3 separate regions of the Homo sapiens genome follow, and all the other regions are linked to region 2. The links are contacts of gene promoters, found by promoter capture Hi-C in human tissues and cell types (Jung and others, 2019). All regions are on one chromosome and are shown on one strand. The core of a region is centred on a gene start or on the middle of the fragment in contact, and the rest is flanking DNA. Distances in the headings are between cores, read along the strand shown. Region 1 has its middle 180 kb from the start of CLVS2. Region 2 holds the start of CLVS2 (clavesin 2). Region 3 overlaps TRDN (triadin).

Region 1 (3,553 bases), core at 326-2,825, 180 kb after region 2:
TTTTAGGGTGGAACTTTCTCTCTCTGGGGTGACTGATTTATGTTCCGTCACCTCTCTGACCCTCTCCCCTTTTTTATTCTCCATAATATTAGCCTCACTCTACTCTGATGTGGTCATGAAATTGGCTCTACTACATTCTGGTATGTATTTCTCAAATTATGCAAAATGTTACTTTGGGCCTTTGTCTCCTGGTTATTCCCTATGTGAAAATTAAGCTTATTTAATTTATTCTCCTTGTTTATGTGTTTGGCTTACTTGCAGGATGTGTAGAGAAATCCACTTCGACAGTCACTATTATATTATCAGGTGCTGTTTATGAAGTGATGTTTCTAACCTCTTTAAGAATCATGATAACTTTCTCCCACATAAAAGACTGTTAAACCTTTTTCTTCTGAAGAAAAAGAAGAAAGAGTACAAATGAGATATTTGCATTTCGCTCACCTCTACACCCTTTTATATTTCTTGGAGAACATATTTTTCAATGGATATATTGTTTTTGTAATGTGTGAACATTTCTACTGTACTGAGGTTATGGCTTCTTCTTTTGAGAGATGAAATGCTCTCTGGGTCTTCTTTATTAGGCCTGCAAATCCCTTTGATATAACTGGAATTGAATAGATTGCAAAACAGATGACAAATGGGGCACAGGTCAATGTTAATAGAACAATCTTTCTCTAAAATGAATGAGAACAGGAAAAATAAATGGTATGACTTATTCAGAATTATTATGGATGGAATTCTATAATTAAACTATGAGAGAGAGAGAGCATACGGTGTTTGCCCTGAATTTTGAAAACTTTTGAAACTTTACAACTGCAATCTCATTTCTTTTGACTATATTTTTGGTATATACATTAAAGTACATGATGCAGTTTGCTAGATAATGTAAAAACAACATATTTCAGTAAGTTCCAAGTAACTTCAAAGGAAGTTAATAACTGAAATAAGAAATATAAGACAAAAATGACTATAATTAGATTAAAGGACAAACATGATTATAAGCAGAAGGTGAAAGCTGTGCCAAATCAATACAATTTCAGCTTAGACTTTACATATTAGCCTAGAGAGACTGGATGACAACTTAAATGGGTTCTAGATGGGTGACGGAAAAAGAGTCAACTTGGTTGTTGGTAGAATGTTGGCATTCCCAACAATCTTGGTATGTTTAGTGAAAGTAAAAGATAATACTAATGATTTCAAATTGTCTTTTGAATTATTTTCAACTTATAGGCAATGTTTTCTGGATCATTCAAAGACAAACCGTCTTATCCATAAATAAGTTTCCATGGATGTTTTTTAGTTTAATGGGTGAAAAATAGAGCCTTGCTATGTATCAGACTCAGCTCTTCACTAAAGAAAACCATAGTATCTGACCTCAAACCCCTCTTCTAAGCTTTCTGGAAATTTTTGTATTGGGAGCTCTTCGAAACTATCTATATTCTTCAAAGACCCGAAGAGCAGCATACCACTCAAAGATAGAGTTATCCTTCATAACGTAAACTTTCTATAATATTTACAGAGACATCTTCAGTCATTAAGACTGATGTATGTGACATGATTAAAAAGGCAGAAAGAAAACTTTAAATACCTACAACTAGCTGCCATTAATGCTTAATAAGTTTTTTTAATGCTTTCATGTTTATTTCAAATGGAAATGGAAATGGCTAAAGTAGCACATTAATCTGTTATCAGTAATTTATTTCTATAAATAAAGGTTTAAAAATTTAATGGTAGAGAGATGAAAACACCAGGGTCCTGGGGGATGGGAAGAAAGAAGTATTAGAAGCTGATAACATTTCATGTGTTTCGTGAAGGTTGGAGAGCTCTCAGACAAAGCCTGCCATTTAGTTTAGATCAAAATATCTAGACAAAAAATAAAATGTTGTTAGTCATCCAGTTGTTTTGACATTACATAGGCCATATAGCATTATGAAAAAAGCATGAGTATTACTTTTCTCCTAGATATTTCTCAGTGTATAAACATAGCCATAAACATAATAGTTTTTACCAAAGGTAGCTGGAATATGTCAATGTCATTAATTCAAGTTTTTAAAATATAGAAATTAAGAGCAAGTTGATATTGTAAGTTATGAGCACACTGATCACACACATCTAATTTGGGTCCCACAGCCCCACTAAATTATAACAAATCTTTTAAAGACGTTTTGTGGAATATGTTAAGCCACAGATAGAAAGAGAGGAGGACAAACAATAGAATCTTAGAAGCTAGAAAGCAAATAGAATCTTAGAAGCTAGAAAGCAAATACAATCTTAGAAGCTAGAAAGCTAATAAAAGAGGAAAAGCTGAATTAACAAAATGGAGAAGACAGTTCCATTCTTTTCTGCTAGGTAAGCAGAGGGGAAAGCTCAAACCAATATATATTTTTTTCCTGAATAATTGTCAAAAAGCTCAGAAAATACCAATCCCAAATATCTCTGAAAATTGGGGCAGGCAGGACACTAATATAAAGATGATGTAGGTAAAGGATATTTGTGTGAGAGTCCTGAATCCCTCCCAGACTTTTCACCTCCGGATGAGTTCTTCCCTCCTACACTAGCAGAGTTACAAAATGTTATTTCCTAAACAGAGGATAAAGTCTTTGTCCTGGAGATCTATAGAAACAGTAAAAGCCACTGGTTTCTTAATGAAAATAGGGCCATCAAATGACCTCATACATACTCAGTGCTGCATCTTGGTTCTCTCTCCTCTTCTCAACTCCCAGAATGCTGGCAGCCAAAACTTTATACTTCACACAAAGGATAAATCTCAGGAAAAATTCACATCTCTGGAGGAAATACTTAAAGATACTGGTGTTGAGCACTTTCTCCCCAAAATATTTTCAGACATACAAGTTTCAAGGAATATCTCTCATGCACCCTTTGCCAATGGAGGTGCCAGGAGATATACTGCAACAAAATAAGGCAATAAACTAAGAGAAAGTGGGCCCCAAAATACAAGAACCAGAGAACTGAAAAAGCAGAGTGTCAAATCAAATCCCTAGAATAACACAAAAGGAAAGCTCAGGGTGATAACCTATGTATCAGACATGGAGGGCAAACAGTTCAACTTGGGGCAGTCTGACTCAAAGGGCATGTACACTGAGGCTACCATCAGAAGGCCTTTTTCTGTGATAGCATTTTATGATCTGACAAAATTATTGGGGCATATATTTCAGCAAAATTGGAGAATAAATGAAGAAAGAAAAAAAAACAAGAGATAAATAATCCAGGGAATCCAGCCTAGAGGAAAAGCAGAGAGAATTCCAAGATAAATCTAAGGATGTCTCAAGATGGCAACTGGGCAGCAGATAGGAGAGTAGATGTCTCCAGGTAGGTCATGTCCAGGAAAAAATGGCAACATATGGATTGCCTAGTGTGACTGACATTGTTGAAAATTGTACTGAGAGGCTGCTGGAAGGTAGGGGAAGAATTAGCAACAGATACAAATAAAACCAAGCAGGAAAAAATTGGGTGATATTATACAATTATAGTAAAATACAACATTCAATTATGAATAACATTTTCATGGATGGAAAAATGTAGACACAGGGGT
Region 2 (3,201 bases), core at 347-2,846:
TATCTCTATCTTCCAATATCTTCCAAGACTATTTACTGTACAAATACCCTTGAGAAGACAGTCTAGAAAAAAGGGCAATTAGTGCCTTGGTCATAAGACAGGTAGAAACACAACGGATCCAGGGAGAATTGTCTCTCCATGTTGGTGATGACTAAAACTTCTTCATACAGTTGATACGAAACATAAATTTTCTTCAACCTCTAAAATATTAGAAAAAATGATTTTTTCAAATGTTTTAAAATGAGAACCAAAAATTTAACAGTTCACATTGCATTCAGCATGCTTGAGAAAGTCATAATCACTTAAAATCCTAGAAGGACCTTATATATAGTGCATATATATAACACACATATACACACACTTAAGTGGTTTATTTTCTGCCTTCCCCATTTAAAACATAAATTCCTTGACAATAATGACTGTGTGTGTGTGTGTGTGTGTGTGTGTAATTTATTGTCTTATTCGGGTTCCTACATTAATTTGCATTAATTTAATTAATAAATGCTCTAGCTCTACCATACAACCCTTTTCCTTCTTTCTTTTTATCAACACCATCGCCATGAGAAGAGCAAAAACAAGTGTGCCTGTATTTTGAGGGTTCTCATAGTCATCAACATTGAAAATGACAAGATAAGAAATGTCAAGATAAGAAAATGACAAAATTTGCTTATCTTCAAGACCACCTCCTATACACAGAATGCAGAAAAATGCCCCACACCTCGTGGAACTCAGTAAATATTAGTTGCATTGAATTAACTTCAATTCAAGACCCCATTCTACAGTTTATAAAGTCAAAAGTTGCTCTTAGTAACACGCTCAGTAATATGTGCTGTGTTTTGAAAATAGAAAATATCCCTTTTCCTCAAATCCATAGATAGTCATATTAAGCGCAAGGACTTCTGTTTATTTATAATGATTCTCATATACAGATGCATACAACTGAAGGAAGGATGGTATGTGTTTCCAGAAATATTTGCTTTATGATGAGATATGAGTGAAGTTCCTATTTTTTTCTTCCTTTGAGAATTATGTTTTTATTATCATTTACCCTAGTGCTCATTTTCATCCTCTTCAACAGAAATTTAGCAGGGAGACTGGTTGAAAAACTATTCATATAAGTTCCTCCGGAGGCTTAATCATCAGTACATTGTCTTGGAACCACTCTGGTGTTTTCTAAATTAAATATCTCTGTCTACAACAAATGCGAAAAGTACAGAATGTTTCCGTACTCCTTCTACATCAAAATTGCCTCCTACAGGAACGAGAAAATGCGTGTCAATGTGAATTACCGTCTACAACAGCTACTCTCCAGGCTGATCTGGGGTCTTGCACACAAAGGGCGAAGAGAGGGGCGTGGGGAGGCTGGAAAGCATGGTTGCCCCGCCTGGCCCGGCGACGCCCGCTCAGCAGCCTGCTGAGGAGTGGGGACGAAGAGCAGCCTAAACTTAGGGCTCGGGATATTTCGATGCCACCCAAATTGCCGTCCTACCCCAACGAGGCAGGGAAAGGAGCGGAGCGCGCGCGCGAGCTGAGTGAGTGCTTACGTCGCAGCGAGATCTGTGCTGGGATAATTAGAGAGGAGTTGGGCTGAGCCGAGTCCTCTTTCAGCAGCAGCAGCCGGAGCCGCCGCCGCAGCCCGGTGGGGCAACCCTGACTCGGACCGCTCGGGAGAGCCCCAGGAGAGGCCAGCGCCGCGCAGCAGCCGCCCCGCTGCGCCCACCTCCCCGGCTGCTCCCGGAGGGCTCACAAAGGCGGTGGCCGCCCGAGTGGCCTTCTCCATCCAGGCGTTCGCGTCCTCCTCCCCACCTTCTCTCCCGAAGGCGAAAATGGCAGGGCCAGGCGAGAACCTGGGACAGCGGTGGCCCTAGCCCTGCGATCCTCACCCCTCCTGCTAGGAGAGGCTGCGGGCTGCCCGCGGACGATGTGGCCGCGGCTGCTCCCGAGCGCATCTTCGGCCCGGGTCCCCGCCGCCACCCCTCTTCTCTGCTCCTTCCATCCCGCCCAGAGGAGTTGATGCCGCTGTCGCCGCCGCCGCCGCTGCTGAAGCCGCGGCTGATGGATGCCAGGGAGTGCCGCATTGCTTAGCGACCCCGCCTCTGGGTTTGCTGGTAGGAGCGGCTGCTCTTTCTTCTTTCTTGCTTTGGGGTTTTATAGAAAAGATAAGGACATTTTTATTTTATTCTTCACAACGTCCTCCCCTTCTCTTCGTTTTTGAAATGTGCATTCCCAGAGATATCCCCGGTCCCCTCCCTCCCCCTCCCCCCTTTTCTCCAACCCCGCGGCAAGTCCGTGGAAATGAAGGGCTAGAGGAAGGCAGAAGTTGGGGGTGGGGTTGGGGGAGCCCACGCTGGTACCAACGCCACCAGAACCCCTGCTGGTGCCTTATGAGATCACGGTGTATCTCAGAGGGGTGGTGGGAAGGTGCGCTATCTGCAGAGTCTTCACCTAATTGGATCACAATAATCTTAAATAAATCACACAAATTTGTCTTTTAAAAATAGCGTCTTTGAATAAGTACAGGGAGAAATAATCTCCTTTCTCCCCCCTCTTTCTCTCTGTCTCTTTTTCTTTCTGGCAAAGATGATCTCTCTCCGCCCTGGAGCTCAGCGCTGAAGAGCTACCTTATTATTAATCAGAATTTCCATCGCCACCCCTGGCAGGCGTATCCTTCAGCAGGGACCGCAGGAACATTCACAGTGCAGGGGCTGAGATGTGCGTGGGGGTTGTTTTTGTTACATCTTGGAAGAGAAGAGAAGAGGACAGTACCAAGATCAGAAACACCCGTGCTAGGTGGAATTAGGGGTGATTTGTTAGGAAAGAGAAAGGACAAGAAGAGGAGTGCGGAGCCCTTCAGGGGTTCACATCTCTTTAAAGGAAAGGAAAGAGGGAGCCAAAGTAGGGTGTTGTATTTTAGGGGGCAGAGGAAGAAGTTTACACCCCCCGGCCCCCCCAGCTTTGCTGGGGGAAAGCAGGAGCAACAGGGCACTTGATTGGACACCAAGATTATTAATTTCCTGTAGGGGAGAGGAAGCAGGCAGCAGGAGGTCTGGGGGCTGGAGTCTGGTGGTGGCAAGGACCAGGTTTGCTTTGGGACAGTCAACAAGGTCTTCTGAGGGAAAGCTCAGAGATAGGCAGAACAATGACTCATTTGCAAGCCGGTCTCTCCCCTGAGACCCTGGAGAAAGCTCGCCTGGAGCTCAA
Region 3 (3,334 bases), core at 553-3,052, 240 kb after region 2:
GCTCAGTTACTCTATGTTCATCTCTACCAGCAGTCTATTTTGATTTGTGCAGTTTCAAGAAATCCTCGTAAGTAAACATGTGGAATCCTTAGTCATAGATGCAAAAAAAGCTTAGCATGAATATTTGTATTCTTCCTCAGCCCTCTTCCTTTATCAAATTCGCTGCCTCTCTCTGTTTCTGCAGAGATACCCAAAGCTCCAAATTATTTTCTCAACTAACTGGCCAAATTGTGTGTAACCGGTTTAACAGAATATTACTTTCTAAGAGTTCACATTTTCCTAAGAAATCTTAAAAACCCACGGTAGTTCAAAGCAACATTTGACAGCCAGTTTATTTTAGCTCTCAGGTGTGAGAAGCTCCTTCAATATGTGCTATTATTTAAAGTAATAACGAGTTTTAAAGAAAATGAACTGCTACACTGAGAACTCACTGAAGATTCTTAAAATTGACTCTAGGGAATAATAAACTATGCAGGGAAATTTCACATTTGGGATTTTGTAGGCAGCACACAGTGAAGCCAGGAGTGTTCAATGAATGTATGCGACCCTTTCTTAGTGTCTGTCCCATCACTCCCAGGATAAACACGGCTCTCTTGAGGGCAATGTCAGAACAACTTAACATCACCCTTAAATGAATGAGGCCACAGTGCTGGGACCCAAAGTCTAATAATGAACAGTGACAAACGTTTCACCAAATGCGCCTTATACACAACCTTTCTCTGGAGTTTAGCAAAAGGGGTGATCAGAGTGGTGAGTATGATCACTGGCACATATTAAGGAGACTTCAGCCAATTTTTTCTCCTAAAACAAAATCATCATGAATTTAATCACCCTTGCTTTAAAAAGTGAGATTGTTTTAAATCCAAGCAAAAATAAGAGACAGATGTTTTCTCTTTATTTTTTTATTTAATAATTGTATCCATTTTGACACAAAAGTTTAATAATTGAAATCTGTCCCTTGCTAGGGGAGTAACCCATTGTCATTACATAATCATCATCATCCTCATTCTTATAGTTACCAATTAATAATCACTTATCATATACCAATCCCTATTCATGCACTCTACTATTTTATCTTAATCTACCCAAAATTTCTATGAGATGAATATTATTATTCAAAATTTAAAAATAAAGCTATTGAAGCACAAAAATGTTAAGTAATTTTTCCAAGTTATTCAGCTTTTTAAGTCATGATGGGAACCAGTACTTCTGACGCTAGTTTCCCTGGTATCGACTACTACCCTATGATACCATCTGTATACATATGTCTATTATGAATTTAGTGCTAATTTGTTTAGCAAAAACTACAGTAATGTTGCCATTCCATTTCAGCATGTGACCTCTAACAAAACAGAAGTCATTTTATAAAAACAATCACTTTCATATCATATATATGTGTGTGCATTTATGTATAGGTATGTGTATATATGTTTATAAACACACATATATTAAATATATATACACCCATGTGTAGCCAGAAATAAGCTTTCATCCATTCATTATAAGAAGACTTTATTTCAGTTTGTACATATCTGTATTAGTTGAGAATGGTTTTGCTTTAATAAAGATTAAATTTAGGATTCTGTGATGAAGCACTCGCTAAATTTTTAATGACATAATTAGTTTTACACAATTGTCTAGAACTGGGACGTAAGATATCTTGTTTTTTAATTTAGAAAAAGAAAGGCAATAATCTTGGTTAAAATAAGACTTGTGGATAAAATCTTAAAAACTATTGGACACTAATACTTCTGAAAATATGATAGACTGAATACACTAAAGTGCTCATTCACAGCAACAAAAACTAATACCTTTTGTTGAAGGACTGGGTTTAGAGGAAGTAAAGGAAATCTTCAAATAGAATTGACCCTTCTGTCCCAGGGAAATTAAAATAAAAAACTAACCCTGCTGATACATGAAAAGTGGGGTCACATTAGGACAAGTGCTTATATTAAAACTGAAATTCAGTAATTAAGTGTGCAAGGAGCAAAATGGGGGTGTAGAGGCTAGGATCGTTTGTTAAGCCAGGGAGGGTGGGACAATGATAAAATTGTCCTAGGGGACTGTGAGAACATAATAGCAGTAGAGATCTTAAATTTCCTTCATATTTCTCCCCCCAAAATGGATAGAATAGGTAGACAGCAAAAACCATGAACAATATTTATAACCAATTAGATGAACCCTAAGATAGCTACATATTGAGACAAATGAATAGTCAAAAATCTACAAGGAATCAAAGTCTGTGGAAGAGGAAGCAGAGGGAAACCATGGGGAGTCTGAGAGATGGGGATCAGTCTCTCAGATAGCCAATAGGTATTTCCCAAAGGAAGTTAGACTGATGAGATCATCAGCTAAAGTTATGAGGGACTTTGTCAAGTCCAATAGCAGGTAAGCATTGAGAGCTGAAGGTGCTGGAACCTTCAGATACCCTGTGACCTTGGGAAACTGACAAGCCAGGGCTCACTTTCAGGATGGATTCCCACAAATGGTAAGGAACTGCTGGGAGTGGAATAAAAGTTGAGCAAGACAGGGTCAGTAAAGACAAAGAAAAAGATAAGGTCAGGTAAGTGAGAAAAAGCAACCCAGCTAGGAAATCTCAAAAAGCTATCTTTCACAAGTTTTGTACGTTATTAATTTTATTTTTTAAGGTTTATTTTTTAAAATAATCACACAGTAAATTGAGTTTTTCAGTGCAAACTTCTATGAATTTTAAGACATGTATATGAATTTTAAGACACGTATAGATGTGTGTGACTACAACCAAAATCACCTCCAAAAAATACCTTTGTTCTCCTCCTTTATAGTGACACTCCCCCTCTGTCCCTAACCTTGAGCAACTACTGAGCTGTAACCCAATGGAAGAATCTCATATGCATGAAAACTTCCCGTATGGAACCTTTGGAGCTTAGCTTCAGAAGAAATAACGTATTTGAATTCATATAACTGCTGCACATATGAATTTTTATTCCTGAGAAATATTCTGTTGTGTGGATGTACTACAGCTTCTATATCCATTTGCCTGTTGAAGGACATTTGGGTTATTTCCAGATTTGGCGATTGTGAATATAGCTGCAATAAACATTTATGTTCACATTTTTGGGCAAACATAAATTTTTATTTCTCTCATCCTTCAGGAGTGAGATGGTTGGGTCACAACATAAGCAACTCTCAGTTTTCTATAGTGCCAGTACCATTTTGCCTTCCCGACAGCAATGTATGAAAGTTCTGGTTGTTTCAAATGCTTGCCAGCACTTGTTTTTGTTTTTCCATGTTTTAAAAAGTTACTTATCCTAATAAATGTGTGCTGTTATATAATGGTGGCTTAGCTTGCAAT

Evidence for each region. The method cuts DNA at HindIII sites, captures the fragments that hold promoters and counts their contacts. A contact is called where the count stands out against the background at its distance.
Region 1: a contact is called between a fragment that was not itself captured here and the fragment with the promoter of CLVS2 in region 2, in 2 of the 25 tissues and cell types used here (H1 embryonic stem cells and mesendoderm cells).
Region 3: a contact is called between a fragment that was not itself captured here and the fragment with the promoter of CLVS2 in region 2, in 2 of the 25 tissues and cell types used here (H1 embryonic stem cells and mesendoderm cells).

The regions. Positions count from the first base shown.
Region 1 is chr6:123,176,960-123,180,512 of GRCh38, forward strand. No RefSeq gene overlaps it. Among named protein-coding and RNA genes, the nearest start is that of CLVS2, 180 kb to the left of the region's middle. The HindIII fragment of the contact is 3,176 bases long and covers 1-3,163 here.
Region 2 is chr6:122,994,639-122,997,839 of GRCh38, forward strand. It overlaps CLVS2 (clavesin 2), which reads left to right and starts at 1,597. Exons shown (of 6, transcript NM_001010852.4): 1 at 1,597-2,108; 2 at 2,581-3,201. The coding sequence starts at 3,140. It overlaps LOC124901392 (a long non-coding RNA gene), which reads right to left and starts at 282. Exons shown (of 2, transcript XR_007059733.1): 1 at 1-282. The HindIII fragment of the contact is 5,962 bases long and covers 1-3,201 here.
Region 3 is chr6:123,232,914-123,236,247 of GRCh38, forward strand. The region is part of intron 38 of TRDN (triadin); the gene reads right to left. Among named protein-coding and RNA genes, the nearest start is that of TRDN-AS1, 210 kb to the right of the region's middle. The HindIII fragment of the contact is 4,369 bases long and covers 1-3,334 here.